5 separate regions of the Homo sapiens genome follow, and all the other regions are linked to region 2. Evidence: promoter capture Hi-C in human tissues and cell types (Jung and others, 2019). All regions are on one chromosome and are shown on one strand. Each heading gives the region's core, a stretch centred on a gene start or on the middle of the fragment in contact. The rest is flanking DNA. Distances are from core to core; before and after follow the strand shown.

The links. Contacts are between HindIII fragments. The study calls those that stand out against the background at their distance.
Region 1: a fragment that was not itself captured here is called in contact with the fragment with the promoter of PC in region 2 in 1 of the 25 tissues and cell types used here (dorsolateral prefrontal cortex).
Region 3: a contact is called between a fragment that was not itself captured here and the fragment with the promoter of PC in region 2, in 1 of the 25 tissues and cell types used here (dorsolateral prefrontal cortex).
Region 4: the fragment with the promoter of PELI3 here is called in contact with the fragment with the promoter of PC in region 2 in 1 of the 25 tissues and cell types used here (mesendoderm cells).
Region 5: the fragment with the promoter of RBM14 here is called in contact with the fragment with the promoter of PC in region 2 in 1 of the 25 tissues and cell types used here (hippocampus).

Annotation. Positions count from the first base shown.
Region 1 is chr11:66,636,914-66,641,190 of GRCh38, forward strand. The region is part of intron 1 of RBM14-RBM4 (RBM14-RBM4 readthrough); the gene reads left to right. RBM4 (RNA binding motif protein 4) reads left to right here and starts at 1,790. Exons shown (of 4, transcript NM_002896.4): 1 at 1,790-1,839; 2 at 2,787-3,210. The coding sequence starts at 2,799. RefSeq lists enhancers at 1,241-1,954, 1,719-2,088, 1,955-2,666. The HindIII fragment of the contact is 5,623 bases long and covers 1-4,277 here.
Region 2 is chr11:66,956,047-66,960,037 of GRCh38, forward strand. PC (pyruvate carboxylase) reads right to left here and starts at 2,337. Exons shown (of 23, transcript NM_001040716.2): 1 at 2,276-2,337. RefSeq lists enhancers at 752-1,131, 2,295-2,344 and silencers at 1,995-2,094, 2,415-2,774. The HindIII fragment of the contact is 6,851 bases long and covers 1-3,284 here.
Region 3 is chr11:67,230,523-67,234,756 of GRCh38, forward strand. It overlaps KDM2A (lysine demethylase 2A), which reads left to right. Exons shown (of 21, transcript NM_012308.3): 12 at 1,044-1,438. Among named protein-coding and RNA genes, the nearest start is that of GRK2, 34 kb to the right of the region's middle. The HindIII fragment of the contact is 4,272 bases long and covers 553-4,234 here.
Region 4 is chr11:66,464,693-66,468,996 of GRCh38, forward strand. PELI3 (pellino E3 ubiquitin protein ligase family member 3) reads left to right here and starts at 2,213. Exons shown (of 8, transcript NM_145065.3): 1 at 2,213-2,335; 2 at 3,436-3,588; 3 at 4,141-4,212. The coding sequence starts at 3,437. RefSeq lists enhancers at 178-679, 680-1,179 and silencers at 2,131-2,340, 2,351-2,700. The HindIII fragment of the contact is 25,810 bases long and covers 1-4,304 here.
Region 5 is chr11:66,614,094-66,618,043 of GRCh38, forward strand. It overlaps RBM14 (RNA binding motif protein 14), which reads left to right and starts at 2,537. Exons shown (of 3, transcript NM_006328.4): 1 at 2,537-2,964. The coding sequence starts at 2,628. It overlaps RBM14-RBM4 (RBM14-RBM4 readthrough), which reads left to right and starts at 2,537. Exons shown (of 2, transcript NM_001198846.2): 1 at 2,537-2,964. The coding sequence starts at 2,628. It also overlaps the pseudogene RNU4-39P. RefSeq lists enhancers at 2,013-2,122, 2,487-3,420, 2,553-2,782. The HindIII fragment of the contact is 10,275 bases long and covers 1-3,950 here.

The DNA.
Region 1 (4,277 bases), core at 991-3,490, 320 kb before region 2:
CTTCATCACTGATCCCGTGGCCTTTACACAGGCTCAGAGGTGCATCAGAATCCACAATGAAGTGGACAAGATTAGTGACCAACACATCTGTAAATGTTATATTTTCTTTTTTTAGTTCCTTAGCTTTTTCTACCCTAGGATAAATTATTGACCAGTTTTCTGCAGTCAGATTCCTGAATCATGTTGGGTTTTTTTTTTTTTTAGTTTCACTCTTGTCGTCCAGGCCACTCTTGTCTTGCCTCACTGCAACCTCTGCCTCCCGGGTTCAAGCGATTCTCCTGCCTCAGCCTCCTGAGTAGCTGGGATTACAGGGGCCTGCCACCACATTGGGCTAATTTTTGTATTTTTAGTGGAGATGGCGTTCACCATGTTGGCTAGGCTGGTCTTGAACTCCTGACCTCAGGTGATCCGCCCGCCTCGGCCTCCCAAAGTGCTGGGATTACAGGCGTGGGCCACCGCACCTGGCCCTCGTGTTGGGTTTTAAAACCCACTCTTTTTTTTCCCCCCCAAACTCTGACTTCACCTTTCTCTTTATGAAACCGTTCTCTTTTTGGGGCGGGGGTGGTGGTGAAGAAGCTGCTTTGGATGGTGGTGTGTGGTACTTGTGTCATCTTCACTCCTGATGATCCCTTTCCTCATAAACTCTGCACTGCTTTTAGCCTGTTTTGTTCGTGTTATAAGTTCTTCCATCCAGTCCCTGCACTCCACCTTTTAACCCTTTTCAAAAGCTGCTTCGCAAAGGGTCTTGACTAAAGTTGCTTGCTTAATGAATATGAAGCAGCCTAAGGATGAGAGAAAACGAGGCAGCAGCTGGACCCTCTGGAGAATGTTACTTTGTATTTTGTTTACAGCTGGTTGTGACTAAGCTCTGTCCTCTAAAGTCGGTTCTAGGGGATTAAAACAGCTCTGGCTGATGGCGCCCAATAAAATAAAACAAAAAAACCTTTGCTGCTCCAGTTTTTTCTCAGGGTGGGGTCGGGGTATACTTTAAATCTCCATGGTCTCAGAAAGGTTTCTTCATCGCGGACCCTGGGAGGCTGGTTCCCAGAGGGAACTTGTCCTCAGCGTCTCCTGGACAGTGCAGCCTCCTGCCGGGCCTACTTCTGGAAGGCCATTACAGAGGTCCTTTCACCACCTGTGAGAGGTTTGATTTTGGGGGAGCTCCGGGACTCTCAAGGCTACAGTGTGGACTGCTGGCCCAAGGAGAAGGTTGGTTTCCTGAAGTGGTGGGTGGTGGGTTGGGGGGGGTCTTCGTTGTTTTTCTTCCCTGGCATGTGCCTGCATAAGCTATTTCCACAGCGTCCTGGCCGCGAGGGGGGGTGGTGCTTGGGAGGTTAGAGGGAGACACCTAGAGTGAACGGCAAAATGGAGCGCGGAATACTGTCTGGCTGTGCACGTGGAGGTGGCGAAATGTGGAAGCTTAACGAAGTTGGCGCCATGAAGCTAAAGACTGCTACCCCGGGGCTCTAGCTCGCTCCGCCTAATGGCGGGCCGCACCCCGCCGGCGAAGCCCACGTTTGTAGGTCCGCCCTCACGCTGATCTCTTGCCCAATCAGCGAGTTCGGCTTCGCGAGGTTGGTGCCCATTGGCTTTCGCATAAAAGCTCCGAGGTTACAGACGTTTCCACCTCTTGCCGGCCTCTTAGGTAATTGGCGTCCGTGGTAACCAATCAGGAAGAGGATCTGAGGGAACGCCGGCCTTTTACTTTCTTGAGTGGCCAATCCGGTTGTAGGCTCACCTCCCCCTTCTACTCAGAGCACTGCTGCGGCCGCCGCCATTTTAGCGTTTTGTCAGAAGCGTCCGCGCCGCGAGGAGGAGGCCCTGCTGGTTTCTGTGCGGGTGAGACTCCGAGCCTTTCCACTGCCTTTCTTGTACTGTGTTAAATCTTCTCTCACTCCCTTGGGCTTCGGGGGTGTCCTGGTAGGTCCGCAGTCTCCACACCCGTCACTGAGAGCCGACCTCGGTCCTCGGCATTGCGCGGTAAGCCGGGAGCAGCCCTTCCCCCACCGCCCCCTGAGAATACCTTGCTTTTTTTCGCCCACCCTGTCCCGCGCCCGACATGGCTGCTCTTGGAGCCTCGAGATTTCCACTGGGATAACCCCCTTTCCCTTATATCTGACAGTTACATTCTCGTTTCGGGAATTTCTCGGGCCGTGAGACATCGTCTGGTTAATGAATCTGAAGCTCTTTTCCGCGGCCGCGCATTTCAGTGTTCGGCAGGAGCTAGGACGGTGCCCCGAGAGAGGCGTTCACCACTCCAGTATTTCCTTTATCTCCCACTCCTCGCTGTCTGATCCGAGTCGCGCGTTCATTACTTCCAAAGGAAACTCAAATGTAGCTATTACAAGGCCCATTTTCCCGGAAATGATGGCTGCTTTGGTTCCTACGTGAGGAAAAGCCTGTTGATAATTTCAGGCAGGCAGTCAGCAAGCCTAGTAGACTTTTGTTTTCTGTTGTCCTCCTAGTGGATAGAAAAGCCTAGTACCCCCATTTCTTCATATGCTGTCTTTCATGCCCATTTCTGTTGGAAGGTATCGGTTCTTACCAAACCCTTTGTCTACTAAGGACCTCCCTATTGCAGACGTCTTCTTATTCTTACAGGTTCATGGCGGCTACTATAGCAGGCCTTAGTTCACTCCCACTTCCATTTGATTATTGTGTGGAGGTGTGTGTGCAGGCGTGTGAGAGAGAAAACTGGAAATATACATTAGAGTGAAAGTCGTTGTCTTTTGTGAACGGATGTGGGCCTGAGGTCTTTTGTCAGATGTCTTGTTTTTCTCTCCCAGGCTCTTGTCAGGATGGTGAAGCTGTTCATCGGAAACCTGCCCCGGGAGGCTACAGAGCAGGAGATTCGCTCACTCTTCGAGCAGTATGGGAAGGTGCTGGAATGTGACATCATTAAGAATTACGGCTTTGTGCACATAGAAGACAAGACGGCAGCTGAGGATGCCATACGCAACCTGCACCATTACAAGCTTCATGGGGTGAACATCAACGTGGAAGCCAGCAAGAATAAGAGCAAAACCTCAACAAAGTTGCATGTGGGCAACATCAGTCCCACCTGCACCAATAAGGAGCTTCGAGCCAAGTTTGAGGAGTATGGTCCGGTCATCGAATGTGACATCGTGAAAGATTATGCCTTCGTACACATGGAGCGGGCAGAGGATGCAGTGGAGGCCATCAGGGGCCTTGATAACACAGAGTTTCAAGGTGAACCACCCTCTTTGGGTAGAGGGCTGAACACAAGGCTGTGTGCAGAAAATGGTTGGATAAGTAAAAGGAGAGGTTTGGTAAAGATAACAGCTGTTGGCTGGCTGGTGATGAAGAAATAAGTGTGGGTGATGGACTTCTTATGATGTAGAATGCATGGGACTTAGGGGCTTTACCTTAGGCAAATGTCTCCTGGAGAAAAGCCACTCACCTTTTATTTGGAGCCCCTACGGCTTTTGTGCTTATCAGTGCAGAAACCCTTTTCTTTGAAGGCTTTCTGAGTTACTGGGCCTTTTTTATTTTTTATTTTTTTGTAGTAGAGCACAGTTCAGAGTTCCTCACTCTGAATTTATTGCCCTCAGCACAGGATCAGAATTCTGCATTTTACGTGAAGAACCTCTCAAAAACATGTCAAGCGACACTTATAGGACCAGAATCCTTGTTAAGCTGTCCTACCTTACACAAACTCTTTAAAGGGTTACAGCTCTTGTTGCTTTTATATTATACCTGTACCAAGGGATTGTATTTTGAGTTTAAGGCCACTCTAGAATTACAAGGCTGATTTTAGGACTTCCTGGGGAGGAGGCACTGGGGTTTTAGGGGCGGTAATGACTGTCTTTTCATTGGTTTGGGGGGCTGGACTTTATAAGATTTTGGTGAATAGAGCACTTAGATTTGTGTTATCTTGGAGTCTTAACCAAATGAATCTTTTGTGCCTGGAGGGCAGCATGGGTGATATGTGGATTGTCACTTCATTTGGAAGCATCTCAAATCCCCAGCATTTTGAATGCCTACATGTTGCTCAAAGGAAATGCTTGTTAGAGCATTTTGGATTTTGAATTTTCAGATTTGGGATGCTAAAATGGTACGTAGAACGCAAATATTCCAAAATCTGAGGTCTGAAGCAACAGTGGCAGTTCAGGGGTGGTGATCATGGTGAGTTGCTATCTGAACTCTTCTTTCACCTCCTTTGGGTTCCCAGTGTCAAAAAGAGTGGTGTCCTTTTTTAGCTTAATTAAGCAGGACTGAACAAAAATAATAAAAAATAAAAAAAGCCTTATTCAAAT
Region 2 (3,991 bases), core at 1,087-3,586:
ACAGGCATGAGCACCGCGCCCAGCCCCGTCTACCTTTGCATCTAATCTTGCTTCCTCAGTTTGGTTTCCAGTCACTGACTTACCTGCACCTTAGCAAATCCTAGTGCCCTCACCTGGTTACATCTCCTGTAGAGGCCTCTTCCCAGTGACCAATCAAGTTTCTTACACCCAACAGTGAAGCTGTTTCCCCCACATTCTCCTTCCACCTTCCTCAGCCTTCCTCTTCCAGTTCTAATTGCTTGAAACCTCTGTAACTGGCCAGGCATGATGGCTCATGCCTATAATCCCAGCACTTTGGGAGGTCGAGGTGGGCGGATCACCTGAGGTCAGGAGTTCAAGACCAGCCTGGCCAACATGGTGAAACCCCATCTCTACTAAAAATACAAAAAATAGCCAGGTGTGGTGGCATGCGCCTGTAATCCCAGCTACTCAGGATGCTGAGGCAGGAGAATCGCTTGAACTCGGGAGGCGGAGGTTGTGGTGAGCTGAGATCACACCGCTGCACTCCAGCCTGGGCGACAAGAGCGAAACTCCATCTCAAAAAACAAAAACAAAAAAACCTCTTTAACAAAACCTCTCCAGAATAAAACTTTCTAGCTGCTGAAATCCAATCACTGTTTCTCCACTGCAGCGGCATCAAAAAGAGGTCCACAACTCACCTCCTCCACGAAGCCTTCCCAAGCCCATCCCCTTCCAGGCCATTTCTCCTCTCTCTCGCTTTAGTGTGTGGTTTGCTGTGATTTACTGGCCTCTACTGAACTTCCTCTTCCATGTCCTCCTAGGGCCAATACCTCACCCACTAGGCTCTCTACAAACATCTGCAGCAGGCTGCCTTGCTGCTTAGGTTTTGTTTATTTTCTCTCTCCCCCAATGGGTTTGTCAGCAGTTGCAGGACAAGGATTGACCTCATCGCCCACGCTGTCTCTCGGCCCAGTGTAGGGATAGGAACACTGTAGGTGTGCAAAAGAATGTGATTAAGAGTTCAACAGTTAAGGAGAGCCTGCAGGCAGGAAGCTGTAGCTGCAAGTGAGAGAAATGCTGAGCACATCCACCCCCAGCACAAGTGTTTGCATCACATACAGGGAAAGGGTGCCTTGGGGGAGGCCAGCCAGGGCTGATGGTGGCAGTGGGTACGGGAGCAATAGGGAGGCAGATGGCAGGCACTCTGGAGGTTCTGGTTGTCATCAGCAAGTGTTGGTACTTCTCTGAGCCTGTTTTCTCAGCTGGAGAACGGGTAAGGAGCCCAGGCCTACCTCTTCTCACAAAATAAAGACACAATCTGATTTTTTAGAATTTCAGACGAGGCACGCCTGTAATCTCAGCACTTTGGGAAGCCAGGGCAGGCCGCTCGCTTGAGCGTAGGAGTTCGAGACCAGCCTGGGCAACATGACGGAACCTCGTCTCTACCAAAAAATACAAAAATTAGCTAGGCGTGGTGGCGCCCGCCTGTAGTCCCAGCACTGGGGGACTGTGGCAGGAGGGTCGCTTGAGCCCGGGAGGTCGAGACTGCAGTGAGCCGAGATCGCGCCACTGCACTCCAGCCTGGGTGGGTGACAGCAAGACCCTGTCTAAAAAAGAAAAGAAAACAAAAGAATCTCAAAGTTGCCAGGGACCTAGGGACTTGGCTTCCGACTCTGATGCGCTTTGTAAACTACTAAAAGCTGGAGAAATAAGGGGCTGAGCCCAGCCCCACCTCCTGAATGAGCGGCCTTGGGCGAATCACTGCGTCTGGGCGCCTGGAGCTTCCCCGTCTGAAACAAAGTAGAGGATCCTACGGGAGGCGGAGTGCGAGAGCAAGGAACAAGGAAAGCCCTCGCCTTACACGCCGCGGCTTCCTGCAGAGCTGAGCCACATCCAGTACGATGGGGACAACTTGGGCTCCCGATCCTGACAGACTTGGGTTCGAACCCTCAGGGACCTCGCGCGAGGCGCTTTAGTCAGTTTCTCCATCTGCAAAATGGGCCCGAGAGCAAGAATGAGGCAGCCCGCAGGCGGACGCTGCGGAGGGGCGCTCGGGGGCTGCAGCCGGGGGCGGGTCCGGGGGCGGGTCCAGCCGGCCGAGCCCCCGCGCGAGGGGGAGGGGCGCCGTCCGCTGCGTCGCGTCGCGCACCGCGCACAGCCCGTCGCTGTCTCCTCCAGCCGTCACTCGCGGAGCCCGCGCCGCCTTTGCGCGCGCGACCCTTACATAAGCGTCCCTCGCAGCGGTGCCGGCGCACGTCCACCCGCTCCGACCCGCCGCGGGAAGAGGACCGTGCGGAGCGCGGCGGACACTCACCTCCTCGCCGTCGCCAGTCCTCGCCGCCGCCTCTACCGCTGCTGCCTCCACTGACAGAGAACAGCTGCGGTCTCCGTGCAACCGAACTTGCTGCAGTCCCGGCCCCGCCTTACGGACTTCCTATTGGCCCAGACAGCCCAACCCCTCCCGTTATTGGGCAGTGTTCTCCGTCACTCCTCGCCCCTAGGCTCTGGACTCCTCCCTGTGCCCGCCTGTCCGTCACGTTTAAGCCTTGGCGCCCCACGTCAGCCCCGCCCCTCCCGTCCCCGGCGAGCGCCTGGATAAGTGGCGAGGCTGGGAGAGCCCGCCCCTGGCGCACCACCGCCTACTCCCTTGTCTCCGGAGCCTCACGTGGGCCGCCGGACCCTAGCCGACGCCCGCAATAGGCGGAAGTGGCCGGGCTGTGGCTCGCAGTTATTGGCTGTCGGCGGGGGTGGGGACGTTCGATTCATTCACCCGAGTAGCACGTGTCTCCCGAAGCTGCAAGCACAACAGTTCGCACTGGGGCTCAGGCATCCCGGCTAGACGCAGATACGCGCTGGCTAGCGGAGAAGAGGTCGCAGGAAAAGCTAACGTTAGCGAAGGGCAGGAGGAAGGAGAAGGCGCTTGTGCCACACGGGTTACATGACTATGTCCTTTAACAGCTGCGTAGATGATGATGGGGGTCTACAGTACGTCTGTGTGACCTTGGGCAAGCAACTTAACCTCTGAGTCTCGGTTTTGTCATCTGCAGAGCGAAGCTACTCAGGACCTAGGGGGTTTGGAAGCCTTGTTTGAGACACAAGACACTTGACAAGACCCAAGACACTTGTCAAAGAGGAAAGCTTTGACAAGTGGAACAAGTGACTGAGGCATAAGTCTCTGTCATCGAGGCTTATTAATCCAGTTTGAGGGCGTGCTCGGGAAAAACACGAACCACAGACACATCCGTGGTTGTTTTTCCGAAGAGGTTTTCGGGAGGTTTAGTATTTATGCATTTCCTTAAAGGGGGAATGAGGGGAAGGCATGTAGGAAGAAGGGCAAGTAGGCGATTAGGACAATAGTTACATTCCTATGGGACTTTAGCTAATGCCCGGTAAATCTACGTAAGATGAGATGAATGTCTGAAGAGAAAAAGAGAGTAAAGGAAGAGTCAGTTATGCAGATGTCTCTGAGTAGGTAGTTTTGACTTTGTTCTGCACCTGGGAAAATAAGCTTGTAATGACATTCTTATTGTGGAATTTTTAGGAGCTAGACTTAGATTGTAGACCTGAAGCTACAATTGACCTGTCCTTGTTTATGGGAGGCCAGCAAGAATTTACTTGTGAATGATCTGTGGGGGCAGCCCTTCCCAAATGCCTGAGGTTTTTACCTTTCCGTGTGGATATGGCTGATGCCTAATGCTAGTAACAGCTATTCTTTTGGAAGAGGGTGTTGCAGTGACTCAGCTTCAAGGCTTAATCTTCACTTTCGCATGAATTGGGGCGCTGGGGGGGGGTCCCGAGATTTTTACTTTCATTCACCGCTGCGTAAACTGGGGTCTGTGCCAACCAGGGGATAAGGGAGTGACCAAACAAACCAAAATCCTGCCTTCAAAGGAGAGCAGACAGATTAATATATATATATATATATATATTTTTTTTTTTTTTTTTTTGAGACGGAGTCTCGCTCTGTCGCCCAGGCCGGACTGCGGACTGCAGTGGCGCAATCTCGGCTCACTGCAAGCTCCGCTTCCCG
Region 3 (4,234 bases), core at 1,439-3,938, 270 kb after region 2:
GGCTATTGTGGGAGGATTGCTTGAGCCCAGGAGGTTGAGGCTGCAGTGAGCCATGATTGCATCACTGCACTCCAGCCTGGGCAAAAGAGTGAGAACCTGTCTCAAAACAAACAAACCACAACATAAAAAAAAAAAACCCACATAATAATCATACACATCTGTTAAAGCATGGAAAGAAAGTATATTGTACTGTTCAGTTGTTATCGTAGGATGGAGGGATAAGGGATGACTTATTTACCGCTTTGCGCCTTCTTGCATTTTCTAAATTATAAAAGAAAAGACTGGTGAACATTTATCACTGTGTTTTGACTATCAAAATCTTCCTTTTCAAAAATAGTCACTTTGTTTTGTTACTTATGTTGTTAGAATTTCAACTCCAAAGCTTGATTTTAAGACCAAAACTTCAGACAAAAAAAAAAAGTTTTTTGGTTTTTTTTTGTTTGTTTTTTTTTGAGACAGGGTCTCACTCTCTTGCCCAGGCTGGAGTGCAGTAATATGATCGCAGCTCACTGCAGCCTCAACCTCCCAGGCTCAAGCAGTCTTCCCACCTCACCCTCCCTAGTATCTGGGACCACAGTCATGCATCACTATACCCAGCTAATTTTTTTAATGTAGAGATGGGGTCTCACTATGTTGCCCAGGCTAAAACTATTTTTTAAACATACATGCTTCTTAGTGTCTTCTCTTTTAAAAGGTAATGAAATAATAATCCCAGATTCAAGCTTTAACTTGAAACTGACTTTACAACCACTTTGATAAGTAACTGATTTCTAGTACACAGTTCAAAGACTAGGTCCTACCCAAACTTTAAAAAATCCAATTGACTATTACCTAGGTGTCCTCCTAGGTCAGGATCCTGTTTCTACCTGTTAACTGTGATTTTGAACAGTGGACAAATGGGTTGGAATAAAGATAGACCATTTTTTTAAATGTGGTAATTTTGTCATTTATAGCCTCAAGGCCCCTATCATGCCACCTATTTCTCTTGCTGATCACATGGCAGAGTGAAATGTTCTTACTGCATTTTTTCTTCATATTGGTAGATTTGGAGTTAAATGGGTTGGAGTCTGGGAATGGGGATGAGGAAGCAGTGGATCGAGAACCCCGACGCTTGAGCAGCAGGCGTTCTGTCCTCACTAGCCCTGTAGCGAATGGAGTCAACCTGGATTATGATGGACTGGGCAAAACCTGCCGAAGTCTTCCAAGTCTGAAGAAAACTTTGGCTGGGGACTCATCTTCTGACTGTAGCCGGGGCTCCCACAATGGACAAGTGTGGGATCCCCAGTGTGCTCCCCGAAAGGACAGGCAAGTGCATCTGACCCATTTTGAGCTTGAAGGCCTTCGCTGCCTTGTAGATAAGTTGGAGTCTCTGCCACTGCACAAGAAATGTGTCCCCACAGGGATAGAAGATGAAGATGCTCTCATTGCTGATGTAAAGGTAAGGGTTTGATGTGTTACATGACAGCTACTGATCCAGCTATGGCAGTCAGCTTCCAGATTCAGAGGGAGAAAATATAGGAATTTTGGGTGATCTCTGGTTCAGTCAGAGAGAAGTTAATATGCATGTGTGTTTGTTATTGCTGCTCAGTGTTTTCATTACTAGAATGAGGTTATGTCCCTGTTTTGAAAATACTAACATTTATGTGTTCATTGAAGACTTATAAATTTAGTCTTAAACATAGGTTTCAGGCTGACCCCAAAAATAAAGTGACCCAAAGAAAATATTTATATAAGAAATGTTACATTAAACTTAAGTTACCTTGAGATAAAACTCAGGACAAAAGTGACTGATAGGAGTCTCATCCTAAGCAGATTGAGAGAAATGAAATTGTTCTATGCTGGGTTAACGTTGAGTAGCTTTAGCCTCTTTAGATTCAAATTTATCTAGCATCAAGACTTAAATACATTGGGAAAAGCATCATTTTAAAATAATTCATCCCATTGCTTTATCAAGTTTTATGTTTATTTATTTTTTAATTATACTTTAAGTTCTAGGGTACATGTGCACAACGTGCAGGTTTATTACATAGACATACATGTGCCATGTCAGTTTGCTGCACCCATTGACTCGTCATTTATGTTAGGTATTTCTCCTAATGCTATCCCTCCTCCAGCTCCCCTTCATATTGTATATTTTTCTTAAGGAATCCAGACTTGAGCTTTTTTTTTTTTTTTTAATTTTAATTAATTAATTAATTTATTTGAGACGGAGTCTCACTCTGTCGCTCAGGTTGGAGTGCAATGGCAAGATCTCGGCTCACTGCAACCTCCACCTCCCGGGTTCAAGCAGTTCTCGTGCCTCAGCCTCCTGAGTAGCTGAGATTACAGACACGTGCCACCATGCCTGGCTAATTTTTTTATATTTTTGATAGAGATGGGGTTTCACCATGTTGGCCAGGCTGGTCTCGAACTCTTGACCTCAGGTGATCTGCCTGCCTCAGCCTCCCAAAGTGCTGGGATTACGGGCATGAGCCTCCACACCCAACCTTGAGCTATCTAAACTGGAGGAAATTATTTTAAGTCTTTCCTCCTAAGTAACAATTAATGTGAAGACCAAGAATTGTAAAGCTGGAAATAGCAATTTTATTTTTAAATCAGTGTTTGGAACAATGGGTATGTATATTAGAAAGCTAATCTACAAGTTGTAATGTTATTTTGAAAACCTCACATAGATTATTTTAAGCTACTTTTAAGCCATTTTATAAATTTAGGGGGGCCAGGCACAGTGGCTCACACCTGTAATCCTAGCACTTTGAGAGGCCAAGGTGGGAGGATCACCTGAGGTCAGGAGTTCGAGACCAGCCTGGCCAACATGGTGAAACCCCATCTCTACTAAAAATACAAAAAAAGGCTCAGTGCGATGTCTCATGCCTGTAATCCCAGCACTTTGGGAGGCCGAGGCAGGTAGATCACGAGGTCAGGAGTTCAAGATCAGCCTGGCCAAGATGGTAAAACCCCGTCTCTACTAAAAATACAAAAATTAGCTGGGTGTGGTGGCAGACACCTGTAATCCCAGCTACTCAGGAGGCTGAGGCAGGAGAATCCCTTGAACCTGGGAGGCAAAGGTTGCAGTGAGCCGAGATTGCGCCATTGCACTCCAGCCTGGGTGATGGAAGTGAAACCCTGTCTCAACAACAACAACAACAAATCCATTGGAGTAGTTTAACTAAAGTAGCTAAATAAGGAGATTTGAGGTGAAAGGGTGGTACAATGGTATACCAAAGGAAAAAGTAGAAAGATTTGGGTTAAATATTAAGCAGAGTCAGCAAGAAGAGAGGGGAGTTAAGAAGAGACATCTAAAGAGGAGGCTTAGCATTATGAAAAGTGTCCGGAGATAGCTTGCTTGTGTTTATCAGGGACCACTGAAAAACGTGACTGCCATCACTGGCTAAGATATAGTGGCAGAGGCCAGAGCATGAGGAACAAGTAGCCAGTGAGATGACTACACAGGCCGACAGTGTTTGAATTCTCCCTCCAGAGACTTGTCCACAGCTTCTCGTTTACCCAAAACCACAGTCAAAATGTAGCTGACGTCAGAAGACAACAGATTTAGATTCCAGCTCTGCAGGTGTAGTTTCACTTAAGATCAAATAGATTAATTATTCCTATATTTGATCAGTTATGCTAAATCTCAGAAAAGATATAGCAAGCTTAGAGCTTGAATACCTTGAGAATCTAAGCATCACTCAAAAGAAAAAAGCATTAGATTGGGTAGCTGCTGAATCACTGCACAGCTGGGGACTTTCAAGTGCTAGAAAACTTGGTGCTTATAGCACTGATGGCTATACTTCAGTGGGGGACAAAGCTAGTACAGTTTACCCTTCCTGCAGAGAAAGGAATTGTTTGCTGTTGTAACCTATCTGGCTTTCAGGAATAATTAGTAGAAGAGATGAGGGGAAAAGTGGTAGATGAGATATTCATAATATTCCAAGGAAAAATAGTGCATTTCAGTGCTGTGATAAAAGGGCTTTTTTTAGGTTCTAAGGCGTTGAAGAACAAGTCATAGAATATAGAGTTGGAAGAGGATTAAGTGAAAAAATAGGACATTAAAAAGTACTGACTTGGGCTGAGCCCAGTGGCTCACACCTCTTGTCCTAGTGCTTTAGGCGGCAGACGCAGGCAGATCTCTTGAGACCAGCCTGGGCAACGTGGCGAAACCTCACCTCCACAAAAATACAAAATTATCCAGGTGTGGTGGTGTGTGTTTGTGATCCCAGCTACGTGGAAGGCTGAA
Region 4 (4,304 bases), core at 963-3,462, 490 kb before region 2:
AAAGTTTCTATTTTATTCCTTTCTTTGAACCAACAGGGACAAGATCTAGATTGAAGAGAGAAAAGGGAGGGTTGACAAAGGAATTTCAAAGCAATACTGCAAAATCCTATTCACCACAAGTATCATTATTATTCCCATTTTACACATAAGGAAACTGAAGCTTAGTGAGATTAAGAAGCTGGAGTTCTTGGAGCAGAGCGCTGGATTTAGAGCCAGAAGCCAAGGTTGGAACTTAGGCATCTGCTACTGGTGTCCTAACTCTCCCTTCCTCTCCCTTACTTGGGCAATCCTGGTGTCGGGCCCACCTCAGCCTCCCTGAGGCCTGATGGTCTGGCTGTGCCACCATGCAGCTCCAATCCCAGTACTGCCCCAGGAGAAATCCCTGCCTCCTCCTCCAGTGAGTCTTGGTGATCCCTCTCAGACCTTCCTCCATGCAGTCCAGTGTCAGGTGGAAGCACTGGGGCTCCTGTGAAGCATCAGCTCCACATCTGCCTGGCTTGTGACCTGGGGCAAGTTTCTTCTTCTGCCTGAGCCTCAGCTTCCTGGTGTGTAAATTGGGGATTATAACAGGGATTCAGTATATATTCACTGAGGACCTGCTCTGGCAGGCAATGCATTAAAAGCTGGGGGTACACAAGGGAGTGAGGCTGTCCCAGGGTCCCCGTGCACACCCAGCACAATGGACGCCTCTGGTGGCATCAGTGAGGGCAGCTATCCTGTGTCACAGGGTTTGTGTGACCTGCAGCCAGCAGCCCAGCGGTCTGGTGGTGTCCTGCTTGGTGGAAGTCTCGCAGGGAGATTCTCTGTGACTAACGAGTGTCTTTTCCCCTAAAGGATGTGCCGTCGGCTGCTTTCTTGTTTCATCTAGCCGCTGGGCCCCAGAACAGTTGGCAAAGCAGTTGGTATCTTTGGCTATTTTTAGGTGGAGGAGTTAGCGGGGTGGATATAGTAGGGCCCCAGGGGAGTCTGGTAGATGGGGAACTTCAGGTGCAACAAGTTTGTGGGGGTGGGAGTGGCAGCGGCTCCCTCTCAGGAATGTTTAGGCAAACTAAACATGCATCCTTCATAATGGAAGTCAAAAGCCACCTCCTCTGTGCAGTCTTCCTTGATTTTCTCATTAAACACCCCCACCGCCCCCCACAAGACCAAAGACTTGATCTGGAACTATAATCCAGCCTTTATAGTTCCAGACCAAGAGTACTGAGCAATAGGGACCTTACCTGATGCAGACAAGGTTTCTCTTCTGCACCTCTGAGGCTCCATCCCTAGTCAGAACGACAAGGTACGAAGTTAGGAGTTGAGACTGAAGCCACTCATACAGCTGAGATTCTCTCTTGGCCCGTTTCTAGCAAACTACAACAAGCAAGTCACTTTTGTAAATCTATTTCCTCATCTGTAAAATGGGCAACTATCGTGCCTGCCTCCCAGGATTAAAGTAAAGGGTTTAATTTGCTCAAAGCACAGCGCACAGCGCCTAACGTAGACTGATAGATCTCTCGCAAGCCCCAGGCCCAGAAGGGGCGGTGCTCCCCCAAAACTCTCTTTCCTTTGCAGCACAGCGGGGGGTGTGTGCATCCTGGCGGAGGGGAGGGGACTGAGGGGAGGGGAATGGGGGGTGCCCGAGCTGGGCTGGAAGACAGGTCTGCGACTCTGGTCAACTGCAGCTGCTTTCCCCGGCCTCCACCGCTGCCGCACACCCCCTTTGCCTTTAGCATTTTCCTCCTCTCCTCTAATTGCGTGGCGTCCCCAGATGGTAGGCGGGGTGTCGGAGCTGGGGGTGCGTAGTCCCGGGCCTAAGGCTAGGGAAGGGGCCTCCAGCGCCGTGTGAGGGCCCTGACCGACAGTGGGGAGGGGCGCCCATGTCTCTGGGAGAACCCCGGAGTCCCCGGAAATGGAGGCGGAGTTTGGGGAGTCTGAAATGGGGGAGGGGTCGTGTAGACTACGGGGGAGTCCTGAGCCGGCTAGGAGGGGCAAGGGAGTCCCTCAGACGGAGTGGAGAGCGGGGCTTCCCTGGTCAGAGGGCGGTACCAGGGGAAGGGCGTGGTCTCCTGCGAAGGGGCGGAGCTCCGCCTACGAAGGCTGAGCATCGCCGCAAGAGGCGGAGTCTGGAGCGAGGCGGAGCTCTCCTAGGGGCGGGGAAAATGGGGCGGGGCCTCCGGACAGGGGGCGGAGCGTGGCTGTTCGCGCTCATCCCCCTCCCCCGGCCCTGGGTGTCCCCGTGACGAGGCAGCGCGGAGCCGCCGCGGGCCGGGCCCATCCCGCCGCAGCGGCCCGGGGCCGAGCAGGGGCTAGGCGGGGAGGGAGCGGCGCCCAGCGGGGCCCGGAGCGTGGCCAGGTGAGGCCGCCGGGGCGGAGGGGGCGGGGGCTGCGCCAGGCGGGCCCCGGCGGGCGCGGGGGGCGTGTTTGCGTGTCTGGGGGTGGTGGAGGGAGTGGGTCCGAGGGCGGGCGCCGGTGGCTGCTGCGCGCCCGCGCGTCCCTGCGGTCGCGGGTGCGGGTGGTCTCTGCGCCGTCCGGGCCCGGGGCGTGCGGGGCCGTGCACGCGCGCGTGTTGTGCGGAGGGGCCGCCGGGTGTGGACCTGCGTAGGTGCTGGGCCGCGGTTCCCGTTCTGCCCGCCCGGGGCGCAGGGCGCGGGCCTGCCCCGGCGCGGTCCCTCTGGCGCGGGGATGTTTTCCAAACGGGCTGCCTGCGGGAGACGGCTGTGCTGCAGCCCGAGCTCGAGGGGGGAGCGCCGCCTCCGCAGGCCTCCTGAGACCCGGGCGGCTGGGGACGCAGACAGACACCTGAGGGAGGGAAGAGCGCGCACCCAGGAGGAGTCTATTGGCCTACCCGCAGGGGGAGGCCGAGATGGGGAGACTGAGGCAGATGGTGAGGCGGAGGCGGGCAGACAGGCAGAGATGGGGAATGGGGGGAGAGAGACGGCAAAAAGGACAGCGGCTGGGAGGACAGAGAGTCATTGAGAAAGCAGATGGACAGACAGAGGCCTAGACCTCAAAGGGGCAAGAAAGATTCAGATGGACAGGTAGATTCAAAGAACCTGTCAGAGAGGCTAAATCAGAGGTCCAGAGGCTAAGAGCTATAAGCAGGAACTGAGTCTGAGATGAGGGGTAACGGCCCCCAACTCATTGGGTGCCCCGCTTTGAAGCACATCCCAGACTGGGATCTTGGCCAAAAAGCAGCCTCTGGCCACCCCAAGTTGGTCCATCTCTTTGGCACCACTGAATATCCTGACTCTCTTCACTGTGCCACCCCTCCCTGGTATCCCAGCAACCTCGGGCAGTTTAGAGGAGGCAGAGGGGAAGTGGTTGCCATAGCAGTAGAGGCGGTGAAAGGTCACCCTTGCCTTAGCCTAGGCGGCCCTGCAGCAGGCTGCAGCTGGAATTGAGCCGGGCTGGGGTGGGAACCTACAAAGCTCTTTTCTCTCCCACTCTGCCCAGAATGGTGCTGGAAGGAAACCCTGAAGTGGGGTCCCCCCGAACCTCAGACCTCCAGCACCGGGGGAACAAGGGCTCTTGCGTTCTCTCCTCTCCCGGTGAAGATGCGCAGCCAGGCGAGGAGCCCATCAAGTATGGTGAACTCATCGTCCTGGGGTGAGCATCCCTGGCCTAGAAGGGGTGAAGCACCAGACACCCACCCAACGCAGCCAGAACAAGGGCCCGACCCCTCCTCCCCCCACATAGGGCCTTCAGCTGTTTGTCCCTCCTCACCTTCCTAGCTGAAAGACAAAATTGACCAAACCCACCTCAATTCATAATTATTATTTTATCTTCCCATTTTTCACAAAGTACTGTGACAACTCTAACCACCCAACTTCCTGATCAGATGAGAAAAATGTTAACACCAGCTGCCTTTCCTAAAGCACCTAGTGTGTGTGGTGTGGGGTGAAGAACTCTGGTTCTCCAGCAAAACTGCTTGGTTCAAATCCTGCCTCTGCAAGTTGCTGAACTTCCCTGTGCCTCTGTTTCCCCTGTTTTGCAAATGGGGATGATAATAATCCCTTCCTCAGAGGGTTGTTGGAAGAAATGAATGAGGTGATTTCTGTAAAGTACATAGAACAGCGCCTAGCACATATCGAGTGTTCTGGGAGGCAGGCCTGTGCCAAGCCCTTTCATGGACATTATTTCATTTCAATCTTCACAAAGATGCTGTGAGGAAGGAGGTGAGGAAACCGAGGCTCAGAGAGGGGAAGTGACTGGCCCAAGGGCACACAGCTGGTAAGTGGCAGGGCTGGGATTTGGACCCAGGTCTTTCTTACTCTAGGTCTAGTGCGCTTTCACTAAGCCACAGCTGACCCTCACACTACAGA
Region 5 (3,950 bases), core at 1,287-3,786, 340 kb before region 2:
GAGGCAGGCGAATCACAAGGTCGGGAGTTCGGGACCAGCCTGGCCAACATGCTGAAACCCCTACTAAAAATGCAAAAATTACGCCGGGCGTGGTGGCGTGCGTGCCTGTAATCGCAGCTACTCGGGAGGCTGAGGCAGGGAAAACTGCTTGAACCCAGGAGGCGGAGGCTGCAGTGAGCCGAGATAGCACCACTGCACTACAGCCAGGGTGACAAGAGTGAAACTCTGTCTCAATAAATAAATAAATAAAATGGCTATCCTTACTGGGTAGCTAGGGGTTTGCTGATATCCTGTTCTGGGAATACTGCCAGCAGTTTGGATTTCAGGAGATACCAGAGTAGTGCCCCTTTTCTTTCTTTCTTTCTTTCTTTTTTTTTTTTTTTTTGAGACGGAGTCTCGCTCTGTCGCCCAGCCTGGAGTGCAGTGGCGCGATCTCGGCTCACTGCAAGCTCCAACTCCCGGGTTCACGCCATTCTCCTGCCTCAGCCTCCCTAGTAGCTGGGACTACAGGCCCCCGCCACCATGCCCGGCTAATTTTTTGTATTTTAGTAGAGACGGGGTTTCACCGTGTTAGCCAGGATGGTCTCCATCTCCTGACCTCATGATCCGCCCGCCTCAGCCTCCCAAAGTGCTGGGATTACAGGCGTGAGCCACCTCGCCTGGCCCAAGCACATGCCATTTCAATGGCCTTGTGCTACACAACTCCCACCCTCCTATTCTGCTCTCTGTTCCAGGTTCTGGCCATATTGGGCTCTTTTTTTTTTTTTTTTTTGGAGACAGAGTCCTGCTCTGTTGGCCAGGATGGAGTGTGGTGGCGTGATCTCAGCCCACTGCAACCTCCACCTCCTGGGTTCAAGTGATTTTAATGCCTCAGCCTCCTGAGTAGCTGGGATTACAGGTGCCAGTCATCATGCATGGCTAATGTTTTGTTTTCAATTAGCAATAATTGCGCCTCGGATAAACCTCATTGGCTATGATACTGCCACTGCGCAAAGCTAATGTTTTGTAGTTTTAGTAGAGACAGGGTTTTACCATGTTGGTCAGACTGGTCTCGAACTCTTGACCTCAGGTGATCCGCCCGCCTCAGCCTCCCAAAGTGCTGGGATTACAGGCGTGAGCCACCGGGCCTGGCCCATACTGGCTCTTGACTCTTCCTTGAACCAGATTTGCTTCTGCCCCAGCACTCTTTGACTTGTACTTTCTGGCCGGCATGATCTTCCCTCAGAGGATGGCTTAGTTCCCTTGATTACTCCAAGTCCTCATCACCATCTAACACGCTTATGTTTTACTTATTTCTTGCCTGTTTCTCCCCACCATAAGATCCAAGAAGGTTGGGATTTCTGTCATTTTTTTTTGTTCACTGCTATATTCTTGGTGGTGTCCACATGGTAGGTGCTATTTGTTGACTGAACACGTAGGCAAATATTTCCCTGAGTTTGTCACATGTCTATGTTTTTGATGTTGTCTGCCATGCAACAATCTTATTTACATACTCAAATCTGTTTAAAAAAATTTTTGAGACGGAATCTCACTGTCGCCCATGCTGGAGTGCAGTGGCGTGATCTTGGCTCACTGCAACCTCCGCCTTCCGGGTTCAAGTGATTCTCCTGCCTCAGCCTCCCAAGTAGCTGGGATTACAGGCGCGCACCACCACACCCGGCTAATTTTGTATTTTTAGTAGAGACGGGGTTTCACCATTTTGGCCAGGCTGGTCCTGAACTCCTGACCTCCGGTGATCTGCTTGCCTTGGTCTCCCAAAGTGCTGGAATTACAGGCGTGAGCCACCGCTCCCGGACTAAAATTTTTTTTAAGGCTCAACTTTTGCTTCCTGCAGAATTAATTTTCTCGTTTATTAAACTGTTTATTATGAAAACCTTCAACATACAATAACGTCATTCCATTATTTCTTGACTGGGAATTCCATCAGGGCAGAGGCCTTTGATTTTTCACCGGCTGCCAGGACCTCAGCAACCCCAGGGAATGTTTCCAAAGAATCAATTAATGGCACGAGGGCTTCTCCGGGGCCTGCCTCAGGTCCCCTCGCGGTGCTCAGCACAGTCCTGGGAGCCGTTTGCCGACTCAAGGCGCCTGTCCTGGTTTCTCCCGCCAGGCCCGGCCTTCCCCCGTACACTCACGCGGCAACCCCCAGGCGCGGGTTTGGACAGGGCTTCCAGAATGGGAGGAGCCCTGACTTCCAATTGTACAAAGTTTTCCTGGGAGCCCGCCGGTCCCAGCCCCACCCGGGCCAGAGACCGCCTTACAGACTAGGCCTCTCTGCCGCCGGCGCCGCTCGCGCGCGTTCTCCTCTCTTCAGCCCTCCCTCTTCTTCCCAACCCCCTCTCCCGCCACGGGCTGTGGCGGTTGGTCGTCCCTTTCCCACCCCCTCAGCTAACGAGCGGGCTCTAGGCCCTCTGGGATTGGCTGTGCCTGAGCACATCTTCCCTCAGCGTTTCTGATTGGTCGCTGGACGCGCGGGATGCGAGTCCCCATTGGCTAGGCCAGGGCGCCTGCGCGGCGGGGTTCTCGGTCGCCAGCCATTCCTGAGGAGGACTGCCGGTCGTTCGGACGTCTTGCCTGTCGCTGGAGGAGAGGTCCGGGCTCTCCAGGAAGGTGGCTGCGGCGACAAAATGAAGATATTCGTGGGCAACGTCGACGGGGCGGATACGACTCCGGAGGAGCTGGCAGCCCTCTTTGCGCCCTACGGCACGGTCATGAGCTGCGCCGTCATGAAACAGTTCGCCTTCGTGCACATGCGCGAGAACGCGGGCGCGCTGCGCGCCATCGAAGCCCTGCACGGCCACGAGCTGCGGCCGGGGCGCGCGCTCGTGGTGGAGATGTCGCGCCCAAGGCCTCTTAATACTTGGAAGATTTTCGTGGGCAATGTGTCGGCTGCATGCACGAGCCAGGAACTGCGCAGCCTCTTCGAGCGCCGCGGACGCGTCATCGAGTGTGACGTGGTGAAAGGTAACGCGGAGGCGCGCTCGGGGGCGGGGGCGCGCTCGGGGCACTCTGCCTGTTAGCCACGCCCCTTACCCGGGGGTCGGTCACTGCGCGGTTGGGAGGGGTGGGGAAGTGCGCGGGAGCAGGTCGGAGGTGTTGGGGGCGCGTTGGGTAGAGCCACCCTCCTCCCCTGCGGTCCAGGAACCGTCCACCAAGTAGGAGGAAGCGGCTCTGGGTGGGTGCGGCGGCCACTGCGAGCCAAGCTACGGGGCCGGGGACGCGCCTGAGAGCCTTGCGAGTGTTCCGGGGGCGCGCCTTCTCCTGGTCTCCTGGGCCTGGCACCCAGCGGAAATTGGGAAGTGACGGGCACAAGCCGGATCATGAAGCGGGGAAGATTTCTCCACTTCCCCACTTCCTCTCCAGACGTCGGTCAGAGCAAGGGAAGAGGGAAAAGGTGGGGGCTGACGCCCCAAGGCCGCCCTCCTGTTCCCTCCCGATGAATGTGCTCAAGCGGAAGGTAACGGGGCCCTTGGACGTTTCTCGGGCTGGGGTCTTTTAGTCTTGTCTGGCATGGGTCTACTCATGGGCACAGTTACACGTGGGTACGAGAGGGGCCCCTTCCGAATCACTTTGGCCTTTCAATATTAGGTAGGTTAGGCGTGGCAGCTCTGTGCTTTTCTCCTCCCTCAAACTTGGGGTTTTTCTTTGGGCTCGATTTTACATCTGTCAACTGGAAACCCCAGCCTTTTGCATGTGCAAGAAAGCTTGTTTTATGAAGTCCCCTTCTGCGTAGTCTTTACATGCCAAGCCAGTGCCCTAGGGCAGTGTCATTCTTTTATAAGCTTGGTGACTTTGCAGGGGGGCATACTCTGGCTGAGGGGGTCCTGGGGAGGGGTCTGTGAGAGCTCTTCATTAAACAGTGGCTAAACACGGTTTACTGAATCAGTAGTAGTCATTGCTTGAGTAGTCTGATTCTCAGGGCAGATCCCGGTGCCTTTTCTTCGAGAAAA